Regions from separate parts of the Homo sapiens genome. Here region 1 is linked to region 2. The links are contacts of gene promoters, found by promoter capture Hi-C in human tissues and cell types (Jung and others, 2019). All regions are on one chromosome and are shown on one strand. The core of a region is centred on a gene start or on the middle of the fragment in contact, and the rest is flanking DNA. Distances in the headings are between cores, read along the strand shown.

What was found. The method cuts DNA at HindIII sites, captures the fragments that hold promoters and counts their contacts. A contact is called where the count stands out against the background at its distance.
Region 1: a fragment that was not itself captured here is called in contact with the fragment with the promoter of PLA2G12B in region 2 in 1 of the 25 tissues and cell types used here (pancreas).

What each region holds. Positions count from the first base shown.
Region 1 is chr10:72,987,915-72,994,874 of GRCh38, forward strand. No RefSeq gene overlaps it. Among named protein-coding and RNA genes, the nearest start is that of PLA2G12B, 37 kb to the left of the region's middle. The HindIII fragment of the contact is 3,008 bases long and covers 255-3,262 here.
Region 2 is chr10:72,950,028-72,956,576 of GRCh38, forward strand. It overlaps PLA2G12B (phospholipase A2 group XIIB), which reads right to left and starts at 4,779. Exons shown (of 4, transcript NM_032562.5): 1 at 4,448-4,779. The coding sequence starts at 4,658. The HindIII fragment of the contact is 10,065 bases long and covers 1,667-6,549 here.

The DNA.
Region 1 (6,960 bases), core at 509-3,008, 35 kb after region 2:
TGCCTCAGCCTCCCAAAGTGCTAGGATTACAGGCATGAGCCACCACACCTGGCTGAGGTTAATGCTTTTTATGTCCTAAGAAACTACTGCCTATCCCGAAGTCAAAAGTATTTTTTTCCTAAGTTTTTATAGTTGTAACTTTCACATTCAGGTATATAATTCATTTCAACTTATTTTTTGTATATAGCATGAAGTAAAGGTTATGGCTTGATAGACACATAGGTGGTAGACAGATAACCAATTTGTTCCAGTTACACTTGTTGAAAGGTATCCATTTTCTATTGAATTGTATTGACTCCTTTGCGGACAATCAGTTGAACGCGTATGTGTTTGTCTCTTTCTGGACTTTCTATTTTGTGCCATTGATCTATATGTCTATTCTTAGAATAATAACACTATCTTCACTTACTGTTGCTTTATAAAAAGTCTTTAGGCCGGGCACGGTAGCTCATGCCTGTAATCCCAGCACTTTGGGAGGCCAAGGTGGGTGGATCACTTGAGGTCAGGAGTTCAAGACCAGTCTGGCCAACATGGTGAAACCCCCATCTCTACTAAAAATACAAAAATTAATTAGCTGGGCGTGGTGGCAGGAACCTGTAATCTCAGCTACTTGGGAGGCTGTGGCAGGAGAATTGCTTGATTCCGGGAAGTGGAGGTTGCAGTGAGCTAACGCTGCTGCACCCAACCTGGGGGACAGAGTAAGACTCTGTCTCACCAAAAAAAAAAAAAAAAAAAAAAAGTCTTTAAATTAGGTCATGTGAATCTTCCAACTTTATTCCTTTTCTTCCCCCGCTAATTGTCATCTTTATTCTGGATCCTTTGTATTTCCGTATAAATTTTAGGATAAGGCAAGCATGATAGTTCATGCCTATAATCCCAACTACTCAGGAAGCTGACGTGGGAGGATTGCTTGAGCCCAGGAGTTCAAGGCTGCAGTGAGCTATGATCGTGCTACAGCATTTCAGTCTGGGCAACAGAGCAAGACCCTGTCTCTTTAAATAAATTTTTTGTTTTAGAATGAGACTATTTTTAAAAAATCTGCTTGGATTTTTATTGGGATTGTCTTGAATATATAGGTTAATTTGGGGAAAGCAAAATTGAGTCCTCTGATCTGTGAACATGATACCTATCTCCATTTATTTAGAACTTCTCTAATATTTCTCAGCAATGTTTTATAGTTTTCAATATACAGTTCTTATACATATTTTGTTAAATTTAAATCTAAGTGTAACATTTTTCAGGCTATCATACTGTTTTTTAAATTCAGTTTTTAATTCGTTTTTGTATATGGACTTTGTATTCTACACTCTTGTTAACCTCTGTTCATTTTTAAAAACTCTTTTGTAGATTCTCTAGGAATTTTTTTTCTAACCAACACAATCATGTCACATATGAATAAAGACTACTACTTTAATTCTTCCTTTCTGAGGTGTGTGCCTTTTATTTCTGTTTCTTACGTTATTGCGTTAACCCGGATTTCTAGTTCAATGTTAAGTAGGAATGGAGGAAAGCAGATATTGTTGACTTATTCCAAACATAGGGAGAAGGCATTCTGTCCTTTACCGTTTAAATATGCTAAAATAAGATTCTTATAAATGCCTTTTATCAAGTTGAGGAAATTTCTGTCCCTTGCTATTTAAAAAAAAATCATGAGGGGCGTTCCAAGATGGCTGAATAGGAACAGCTCTGGTCTGCAGCTCCCAGTGTGATCAACACAGAAGATGGGTGATTTCTGCATTTCCAAGGGAGGTACCTGGTTCATCTCATTGGTACTGGTTGGACAGTGGGGGCAAGCCAAAGCAGGGCGGGGCATCACCTCATCCGGGAAGCACAAGGGGTCAGGGAATTTCCCTTTCTTAGCCAAGGGAAGCCGTGACAGACTACCTGGAAAGGGACACTCCCACCCAAATACAGCACTTTTTCCAAGGTCTTAGCAACCGGCAGACAAGGAGATTCTCTCCCATGCATGGCTCGGTGGGTCCCACGCCCACAGAGCCTTGTTCACTGCTAGCACAGCAGTCTGAGATCAGCCTGCTAGGCTGCAGCCAGGCAGGGGGAGGGGGCGTAGCCATTGCTGAGGCTTGAGTAGGTAAACAAAGCAGCCGGGAAGCTCAAGCTGGGTAGAGCCCACCACAGCTCAACAAGGCCTACTGCCTCTACACTCCACCTCTGTGGGCAGGGCATAGCTGAACAAAAGCCAGCAGACAACTTCTGCAGACTTAAACGTCCCTGTCTGACAGCTCTGAAGAGAGCAGTGGTTCTCCCAGCACAGCATTTGAGCTCTAAGAATGGAAGACTGCCTCCTCAAGAGGGTCTCTGACCCCCGTGTAGCCTAACTGGGGACACCTCCCAGTAGGGGCCGACAGACACCTCCTATAGGCGGCTGCCCCTCTGGGATGAAGCTTCCAGAGGAAGGATCAGGCAGCAATATTTGCTGTTCTGCAATATTTGCTGTTCTGCAGCCTCCACTGGTGATACCCAGGCAAACAGGGTCTGGAATGGACCTCCAGCAAACTCCAACAGACCTGCAGCTGAGGGACCTGACTGTTAGAAGGAAAACTAACAAACAGAAAGGAATAGCATCAACATCAACAAAAAGGTCATCTACACCAAAACCTCATCTGTAGGTCACCAACATCAAAGACCAAAGGTAGACAAAACCACAAAGATGGGGAGAAACCAGAGCAGAAAAGCTGAAAAATACAAAAATCAGAGTGCCTCTTCTCCTACAAAGGATCGCAGCTCCTTGCCCGCAACGGAACACAGCTGGATGGAGAATGACTTTGACAAGTTGACAGAAGTAGGCTTCAGAAGGTCAGTAATAACAAACTTCTCCAAGCTAAAGGAGGATGTTTGAACCCATAGCAAGGAAGCTAAAACCCTTGAAAAAAGGTTAGATGAATGGCTAATTAGAACAAACAGTGTAGAGAAGACCTTAAATGACTTGATGGAGCTGAAAACCATGGCACAAGAACTTCATGATGCATGCACAAGCTTCAATAGCCGATTCAATCAAGTGGAAGAAAGGGTATCAGTGATTTAAGATCAAATTAATGAAATAAAGCAAGAAGACAAGGTTAGAGAAAAAAAGAATAAAATGAAATGAACAAAGCCTCCAAGAAATATGGGACTATGTGAAAAGACCAAATCTACGTTTAATTGGTATACCAGAAAGTGATGGGGAGAATGGAACCAGGTTGGAAAATACTGTTCAGAATATCCAGGAGAACTTCCCCAACCTAGCAAGGCAGGCCAACATTCAAATTCAGGAAATAGAGAGACCACCACAAAGATATTCCGTGAGAGGAGCAACTCCAAGACACATAATTGCCAGATTCACCAAGGTTGAAATGAAAGAAAAAGTGTTAAGGGCAGCCAGAGAGAAAGGTCGGGTTACCCACAAAGGGAAGCCCATTAGACTAACAGTGGATCTCTCAGCAGAAACCCTACAAGCTGGAAGAGAGTGGGGGCCAATATTCAGCATTCTTAAAAGAATTTTCAACCCAGAATTTCATATCCAGACAAACTAAGCTTCGTAAGTGAAGGAGAAATAAAATCCTTTACAGACAAGCAAATGCTGAGAGATTTTGTCACCACCAGGCCTGCCTTACAAGAGCTCCTGAAGAAAGCACTAAACATGGAAAGAAACAACCAGCACCAGCCACTGCAAAAACATGCCAAATTGTAAAGACCATTGATGCTATGAAGAAAAAACATCAATTAACGGGCAAAATAACCAGCTAACATCATAATGACAGGATCAAATTCACACATAACAATATTAACCTTAAATGTAAATGGGCTAAATGCCCCAATTGAAAGACACAGACTGGCAAATTGGATAAAGAGTCAAGACCCATCAGTGTGCTGTATTCAGGAGACCCATCTCATGTGCAAAGATGCACATAGGCTCAAAATAAAGGGATGGAGGAAATCTACCAAGCAAATGGAAAGAAAAAAAAAAAAAAAAAAACAAAAAAAAAAAACCAGTGGTTGCAATCCTAGTCTCTGACAAAACAGACTTTAAACCAACAAAGATCAAAAGAGACAAAGATGATCATTACATAATGGTAAAGGGATCAATTCAACAAGAAGAGCTAACTATCCTAAACATGTATATATGCACCCAATACAGGGGCACCCAGATTCATAAAGCAAGTCCTTAGAGACCTACAAAGAGACCTAAACTCCCACACAATAATAATGGGAGACTTTAACACCCCACTGTCAATATTAGACAGATCAATGAGACAGAAGGTTAACAAGGATATCCAGGACTTGAACTCAGCTCTGCACCAAGCGGACCTAATAGACATCTACAGATCTCTCCACCCTAAATCAACAGAATATACATTCTTCTCAGCACATCACACTTATTCTAAAATTGACCACATAATTGGAAGTAAAGCACTCCTCAGCAAATGTTAAAGAACAGAAATCACAACAATCTGTCTCTCAGACCACAGTGCAATCAAATTAGAACTCAGGATTAAGAAACTCACTCAAAACCACTCAACTACATGGAAACTGAACAACTTGCTCCTGAATGACTACTGGGTACATAACGAAATGAAGGCAGAAATAAACATGTTCTTTGAAACCAATGAGAACAAAGACACAATGTACCAGAATCTCTGGGACACATTTAAAGCAGTGTGTAGAGGAAAATTTATAGCACTAAATGCCCACAAGAGAAAGCAAGAAAGATTTAAAATCGACACCCTAACATCACAACTAAAAGAACAAGAGAAGCAAGAGCAAACACATTCAAAAGCTAGCAGAAGGCAAGAAATAACTAAGATCAGATCAGAACTGAAAGAGATAGAGACACAAAAAACCCTTCAAAAAAATCAATGAATCCAGGAGCTGGTTTTTTTTTTTTGAAAAGATCAACAAAATTGATAGACAGCTAGCAAGACTAATAAAGAAGAAAAGAGAGAAGAATCAAATAGACACAATAAAAAATGATAAAGGGGATATCACCACCGATCCCACAGAAATACAGACTACCATCAGAGAATGTTATAAACACTGCTACGCAAATAACTACAAAATCTAGAAGAAATGGATAAATTCCTGGACACACACACCCTCCCAAGACTAAACCAGGAAGCAGTTGAATCTCTGAATAGACCAATAACAGGCTCTGAAATTGAGGCAATAATTAATAGCCTACCAACCAAAAAAAGTCCGGGACCAGAAGGATTCACAGCCGAATTCTTCCAGAGGTAGAAAGAGGAGCTAGTACCCTTCCTTCTGAAACTATTCTAATCAATAGAAAAAGAGGGAATCCTCCCCTAACTCATTTTATGAGGCCAACATCATCCTGATACCAAAGCCTGGCAGAGACACAACAAAAAAACAGAATTTTAGACCAATATCCCTGATGAACATCAATGCAAAAATCCTCAATAAAATACTGGCAAACTGAATCCAACAGCACATCAAAAAGCTTATCCACCACGATCAAGTCAGCTTCATCCTTGGGATGCAAGGCTGGTTCAACATACGCAAATTGCCGGGCGCGGTGGCTCACGCCTGTAATCCCAGCACTTTGGGAGGCTGAGGTGGGTGGATCACGAGGTCAAGAGATGGACACCATCCTGGCTAACACGGTGAAACCCCGTCTCTACTAAAAATAGAAAATATTAGCCAGGCGTGGTGGCGGGCGCGTGTAGTCCCAGCTACTCAGGAGGCTGAGGCAGGAGAATGGCGTGAACATGGGAGGCGGAGCTTGCAGTGAGCTGAGATCGCACCACTGCACTCCAGCCTGGGCAACAGAGTGAGACTCCATCTCAAAAAAATAAATAAATACGCAAATCAATAAACGTAATCCATCACATAAACAGAACCAATGACAAAAACCACATCAGTATCTCAATAGATGCAGAAAAGGCCTTTGACAAAATTCAACAGCCCTTCATGCTAAAAACTCTCAATAAACTAGGTATTGATGGAACATATCTCAAAATAATAAGAGCTATTTATGACAAACCCACAGCCAATATCATACTGAATGGGCAAAAACTGGAAGCACTGTTTGAAATCCGGCACAAGACAAGGATACCCTCCCTCACCACTCCTATTCAACATAGTGTTGGAAGTTCTGGCCAGGGCAATAAGGCAAGAGAAAGAAATAAAGGGTATTCAATTAGGAAAACAGGAAGTCAAATTGTCCCTGTTTGCAGATGACATGATTGTATATTTAGAAAACCCCATTGTCTCAGCCCAAAATCTCCTTAAGCTGATAAGCAACTTCTGCAAAGTCTCCAGATACAAAATCAATGTGCAAAAATCACAAGCATTCCTATTCACCAATAACAGCCAAATCATGAGTGAACTCCCATTCACAATTGCTACAAAGAGAATAAAATACCTAGGAATCCAACTTACAAGGGATGTGAAGGACCTCTTCAAGGAGAACTACAAACCACTGCTCAACGAAATAAGAGGACACAAACAAATGGAAGAACATTCCATGCTCATGGATAGGAAGAATCAATATCCTGAAAATGGCCATAGTGCCCAAAGTAATTTATAGATTCAATGCCATCCCCATCAAGCTACCAATGACTTTCTTCACAGAATTGGAGAAATCTACTTTAAAGTTCATATGGAACCAAAAAAGGGCCCACATAGCCAAGACAATCCTAAGCCAAAAGAACAAAGCTGGAGGCATCATGCTACCTGACTTCAAACTATACTACAAGGCTACAGTAACCAAAACAGCATGGTAGTGGTACCAAAACAGAGAGATAGACTAATGGAACAGAAAAGAGGCCTCAGAAATAACAACACACATCTACAACCATCTGATCTTTGACAAACCTGACAAAAACAAGAAATGGGGAAAGGATTCCCTATTTAATAAATGGTGCTGGGAAAACTGGCTAGCCATATGTAGAAAGCTGAAACTGGATCCCTTCCTTACACCTTATACAAATATTAATTCAAGATGGA
Region 2 (6,549 bases), core at 3,529-6,028:
TTCCTCCCAGAAACACTCAGATGCACCATGATTAATACATCAATGGAACACAGCAGGACAGAGGCAATTCTCCTGTAGAGAAGAACTCTGTATTTCAGTCACTAAAACAGATTAAGTTACTGCATAAAGTAGGGTGAGCAACTTGTCCTGGTTTGCCTGGTACCCGTCCCGGTGTTAGTACTGAAAGTCTCACATCCCAGGAGCATCTCCCCTCCTCCTTGAGTCCCCAGCAGACTAGGAGGTCAGTTGCCCAAAAACAAGAATAATCTGTTTGCCTCTAAGCCAGTGGCTGTTTTCTTTTTTTGGGCTCTGGATTCCCTGGAGAATCTGATGAAGTCTTTGAGTTATTTCCCTGGAAAAAGATACAAACTCACAGGTTTATAAAATTTTGCTGTAAAACTTCAGATAAAAATTCTCTTTAAAAAATAGACTGATATTTATTTTTATTTATTTATTTATTTGTTTATTTTTGAAACTTAATCTCGCTCTGTTGCCCAGGCTGGAGTGCAATGGCACGATCTCGGCTCACTGCAACCTCTTCCTCCAGGGTTCAAGTGATTCTCCTGCCTCAGCCTCCCAGGTAGCTGGGATTACAGGGCGCGCCACCACGCCCGGCTAATTTTTGTATTTTTAGTACAGATGGGGTTTCACCATGCTGGCCAGGCTAGTCTCAAACTCCTGACCTCAAATGATCCGCCGGCCTCAGCCTCCCAAAGTGCTGGGATTACAATAGACAGATATTTAAAGAAACTTTTAAGATACTCTTGGAACTAAATCCAGGAAGAAATTCATTTTCAGGATCTTTTATTAAAGTGTGAAAGCGTGAACAGTATCATTATAGAAACTACTCCATTGACCCAACTCCAGAGACCTTCATGAGGCAGATAACTCTTCAGTCGTTGTTCCCTCGAGGGACTTCTTCCGGAAGCTGAGAGGCTGTTGTCCAGCCACTGGGATTTCTGGGATTTTTCATTTTTACGTTGAAAGAGAGCTAGAAGAATCTGAATGCAATTAACCTGTTCACTAGACTGTCTTTCTCATAACGTTTATAAAATTTGTTTGGTACCTACCATGCTTTATATATACCACTGATTCTTTATGTATATTATCTTTAATTCTCACAACACCTTTGCAAGGTGGGTATTAGTAACATTATTTTTACATATTTGAGGAAACTAAGGTTGAGAGAGTCAGATAACTCACCCAAGGTCACCAGCAATGGGATATTTTCTCCTAAATTCAAACCCATGATTTTTCCATTACTATGCTTATTTCTCAAAGTCTGGTTCAAAGACTACCCATTAAAAGTGCACTTCCAAGGTCTCACCACAGACCTACTGCATCAGAATCTCTGGAGGTGGAAAAGGTTATCTATATTTTGGAAGCGATTCTCAAGGAAATCTTGTTTGCATTGGCACAGACTCCTTTTTTTTTTTTTTTTTTTTTTTGAGGTGGAGTCTCGCTCTGTTGCCCAGGCTGCAGTGCAATGGTGAGATCTCAGCTCACTGCAAGCTCTGCCTCCCAGGTTCACACCATTCTCCTGCCTCAGCCTCCCGAGTAGCTGGAACTACTGGCACCCGCCACTACACCCGGCTAATTTTTTTTGTATTTTTAATAGAGACAGGGTTTCACCGTGTTAGCCAGGATGGTCTCGATCTCCTGACATCGTGATCTGCCTGCCTTGGCCTCCCAAAGTGCTGGGATTACAGGCATGAGCCACCGCACCCAGCTGGTAGAGACTCCTTAATAACAGTTGTGCTAGGTATGCCATTGACACACGCTGGATCTTGTCATATTTATAGCCCAGTTGTTTGACAAGTACAGATTTTGTGTGTTGGCATGAGAACAAATTACTTTAGATATGAGAAGCACGGAAAACAATGTTGACATGCTATCATGGGCTACCAGGATACATACACAGTTTTATCTGCCTGCATAATTTAACCTGTGGGCTGAAGTTCTCTAAGAATGACGTCATAGAATGGCACCCCTTTACCTTGGCTGTGCTTTGCAATCACCTGGGAAAAATGTTAAAATACTGATGTCTGGGGCCAACCCACAGAAATTTTGATTTAATTGATTTGGTGCCAGGTGTTGTTAAAGCCCCTCAGGTGATCTGAAGTGTACCCAAGTTAGAAACCCACTGTTTTAAATAGTAGTTAGTACCTATCAAAGGTAAAATCTGGCTGGTGCCGTGGCTCACGCCTATAATCCCAGCAATCTGGGAGGCCAAGTTGGGAGGATTGCTTGAGCCCTGGAGTTGGAGACCAGCCTGGGCAAGATGGTGAGACTCCCTGCTCTACAAAAAGTTACAAAATTATCTGGGCATGGTGGCGCACACCTGTAGCCCAAGCTAACTGGGAGGCTGAGGCAGGAGGATCTCCTAAGCCCAGAATCTCCTACTAATCAGAAACACCTGGGGTGGGGCCCAGAGATCTGGTTGAATCTGCCCTCCAGGGGCTTCAATTCACAGGTGAGTTTGAGAACCACTACTTAAAAGACGAGCACGGTGCATGAGAGATGTGTCACAAAGCAAACTACAAAAGAGCAGACTCGTTGTTAGGTGTTGTCTGTTCAAAAGATTGCTCGATTCACAATCAGTTTGAGAAGGTATTTTGTACTCTTTTGGGCACAGCCGCCAGGTTTTTGGCTCTACTGGGTTCCAAGGTAAGGAGGCATAACCGCCTATTTTTCTAAGTGTTTTTCAGGCCCCTCTTTGAGCAGGTTGTTTTACACAAAGTGAGAAGAGTTATTTGCCTTTCTCTTCTATTTACTCTTCCCATCCCCCACCAGTTGCTGCTGGCTTCCACCCTGCCCAGCCAGAGGCTCCGCAACTAAAATTTGCTTAAGTCTTTTAATGCTGTTTTGCTAGAGAAGGAAGAATAGGATTTGGTTCTTGATTTCCTAATAAAAATTCCTGCTGTTGCCTATTTGCTGAACTACAGATACTAGTCCTGTGTTGCCTTTAGGAAGGAAAACACCTGTGTTGATTCCAATGTCTGAAGTGAGTCAACCCCTTCCCTGTCCCATCCGTGCAAACAGTGTGAGCATAATCCAGTGGCAAGGCCTCTGCGTTGGTCCAACTGCCTTGGACAAATACATGGTTTTAGGGCCAGGTGGGTCCTAACAGACCAGGCATTTTTCTCTGTGAAACTTTCACAAAGAAGCTGCAGCATAGATGGTTAAAACATAGATGGTTAAAACATAGATTTTAACCATAGATTGTTAAAACATCTATGCTGCAAAACTTTGGGTCCTGATGCAATGATTAACCATTACCTCCTAGTCACTCTTAGTGTATAAGGAAGCGATTTTCCCCACTCAAAAAGGAATAGAGAGACTTAAGGGTGAGTCCGGGAAGTATGTAGTTTTTTTGTGCATCTCTTCAAAGCTGACTTTTTCTCTGTTGAGTATTTGGAGAAAATATTTCTCAAATGTGTTTTCCTGTTAGGCTAAATTGACTCACCATTTTCATTTCTAATCCCTTGATGAGATAGTTGATAAATTAAACCATAAAACTAATGCTACCTGAGACCTGAGACTGTGCATGCTTTGGAAAACGTTTTCATGCGCATTGGCAATTACACGATGCCACCCAGCTTCAAGGCCTGGGGCTCCACATTTTGCTCCCCTTACATTAACTTCCAGGGCCCCTGGGACCAGGGGCTCTGTGCCGGCAGCCAGGTGTGCACCTTATATCTGTGTACCCCCAGCCATATTCAGGCAAGGTAGGGGAAGTGCTCCTGCCAGCTCACAAATCTGCATCTGGCGCCAAGTCCAGGGGACAGCCCCGGGATCCCTGGTGAGCCACGAACCCTTCCTCTCCACAGCATGCCTGTCGTTGCCGAGGCTGCAGGCAGGGACAGCTCCCTTGAGAAAGTCCAGCAAATTGATGCCAGTCAGGGACTGAGAGCTGGGAGGACGGTGTGAACTGCAGCAGGGGGAAGGGAGAATTTGTTTCCAAGCTGAGCACAGAGCAGCTGAGGAGGTGGTTTTGCCCCATGGCAGATTTTTCTCTGAATGTTCGGCTTCAGTTTTCATCCCTGGGAACTCCTCACAGAGGCCTCTCATACCCACCCTCCTTCTTCCCACCCCAGGTACCCTTTTTTCCTAAGAACTGCCTCACAACAAACTCATTAAAATGGCCCAGGGAAGGTTTCCCAGATACAATACAGGAAGCTCAGTGAAATGTGAGTTTGAGATAAACAACGAAGAATTTGTCAGGATAAGTATGTCCCAGATATTTCACTGGACATACTTATACTAATGACTTATTTGTTGTTTATTTGGATTTCACATTTCACTGGGTGTCCTACATTTTTATCTGCTAAATCTGGCAGCTCTAAGTGGATAACAGGAAAAAGTGCAAGACAGATCGTGACCTCTCTGGGGCTGTCCATGGGTCCACCAGCAACAGTTTTTACAGAAAGAGAAACCGCACACTCACCATATCGGCACCTGTACTGACAGACTCCATTCTTCCCTCCCAGCAGCTCCAGAAAAGAATCGAAGTAGCTATTGACGGATTCAAAGCTTCCCCGGAGGTGCCGAAGGCCCCAGTCTGAATAGGACTCCTCCGTGTCAGGGCTCGTGTCGCTCTGAGCCAGGCCACCCCCAAGGCTGAGCCACAAAACCAAGAAGCCACTGGCCAGCTTCATCCTGCAGCCAGGTAGGTACTGGCTTCTCTCCTCAAACCCCAGCCAGTGTCCCAGAATTCCAGGGACAAACCCCCTACCCAGATGTCAGGCAGGACTGGGAAAGGGATTATCTGGAACATTCAATCTGTCTGTTCCCCAGAGGTGGACTTTAAACATAGCTATGGAGGTTGGGATGAGATCAGGGCAATTAGAAAGAGGGCAAAGGTTAGGGAGTGGGAGGGCCAGGGAGAGAGAACATTTCAAAGTGGATTCTACCACCCTGGAGGGAGGGAGATGTTAGCCAGCTTCTGAGACGCAGGAACGGTGAAGGATTCGGAGTTCTACCCCGACCAGCTTGTTAAGCTGTTGATCAGTTACAAGTGTGGCTCTTCAGGGCCAGCCTCTTGATAGAAGAGCTTGACCGAAGGTCCTAGCCACACCCCTCAGCCAGCTACCTACATAGTCTCCAAGGAGAGTCAGGAGGATGTGTACAGGGCCCAGGAAAGCCCCAGCGGTAGGAATTAATAGTCACTTTACCAAGGGTCACGATAGTGTCAGAGTAGGTACCAAGTGTGTGTTAAGCAGAAGTTCAGATTTGAGACCCCAGCTTCTGCTGTGGAACCCACCTGGCTCTGACGCATAAATCCTCTAATTTGGCAGAGCTCCCAGATGTAGCCATCTGAGTGCAGGGACATTTTGGCTTCTATTTACAGCAGTATCTCTGTTTACACTCAGCATAAGTGGATCATAAGACAAGATCTACAGATGGTCCAAGGACAATTCTGGGGGCACTCGGCTCTCCTGGTGGTGTTTTTCCTTTGAGTTTCTTAGAAGTCAGAGGGTTTATCAAATAGTCTATTTGGGAGTGTAGGCTTTTAAGACTGTTGACTGAAGTCTAGTGTTTTGGCATCGTTTTCAGTTTAGACTGCTTTTAGTCGTGTGAAGAAATGCCATCTATAAAATCACTAGTCTAGGACCGGGCATGGTGGTGCATGCCTGTAATCCCAGCATTTTGGGAGGCCGAGGCGTTTGGATCACCTGAGGTCAGGAGTTTGAGGCCAGCCTGACCAACATAGCGAAACCCCGTCTCCACTAAAAATACAAAAATTAGCCAGGCAAGGTAGCAGCCGCCTGTAATCCCAGCTACTAGGAAGGCTAAGGCAGGAGAATCACTTGAACCCAGGAGGCGGAGGTTGCAGTGAGCCGAGAGCACGCCATTGCACTCCAGCATGGGCGACAAGAGCGAAACTCTGTCTCAAAAAAATAGTAATAATAAAATAATCACCAGTCTATAAAAATGATACCTTTATGGACCACATGAATCATTTAGCTCCTTTCTCAAATGTTTGTCTGGAAAGCCCCATGGAAAATAATGAATTAAATGAATTAATTTCTTCATTTTCAGTAAATGTGTTTGGCTGAAGACTCAGACTCCAGGAAGGGCAGTGGTTAAAAATTATTCATAGTCACAACAATGCCACCCAATATTTTAAAGCATCTATACTTTTTCAAACCACTTTCATGCATATGCACATACACAGAGGCACACACATACACATGCACATATGCACAAATGTTCATGCCAGTTTCATGAAGCAGATTAAATAGTCCCATTTGGGGGTGAGAAAACTGATGCAGAGGGTAAGTGACTTGATCAAAGCTGGACAGGCTATCAATGGGAAAGCTGGCACCAGGGCCAGCTACATAATTTGTAGGGCTTCACCAAAACAAAACTGCAAATGCAGAGCTCCTTTTCCAAAAGCAGGGGAACTTGCCATTAAAATACTAACTATAGGCTGGGCGCGGTGGCTCACACCTGTAATCCCAGGACTTTGGGGGGCCGAGGCAGGTGGATTGCCTGAGGTCAGGGGTTCAAGACCAGTCTGGCCAATATGGTGAAACCCCGTCTCTA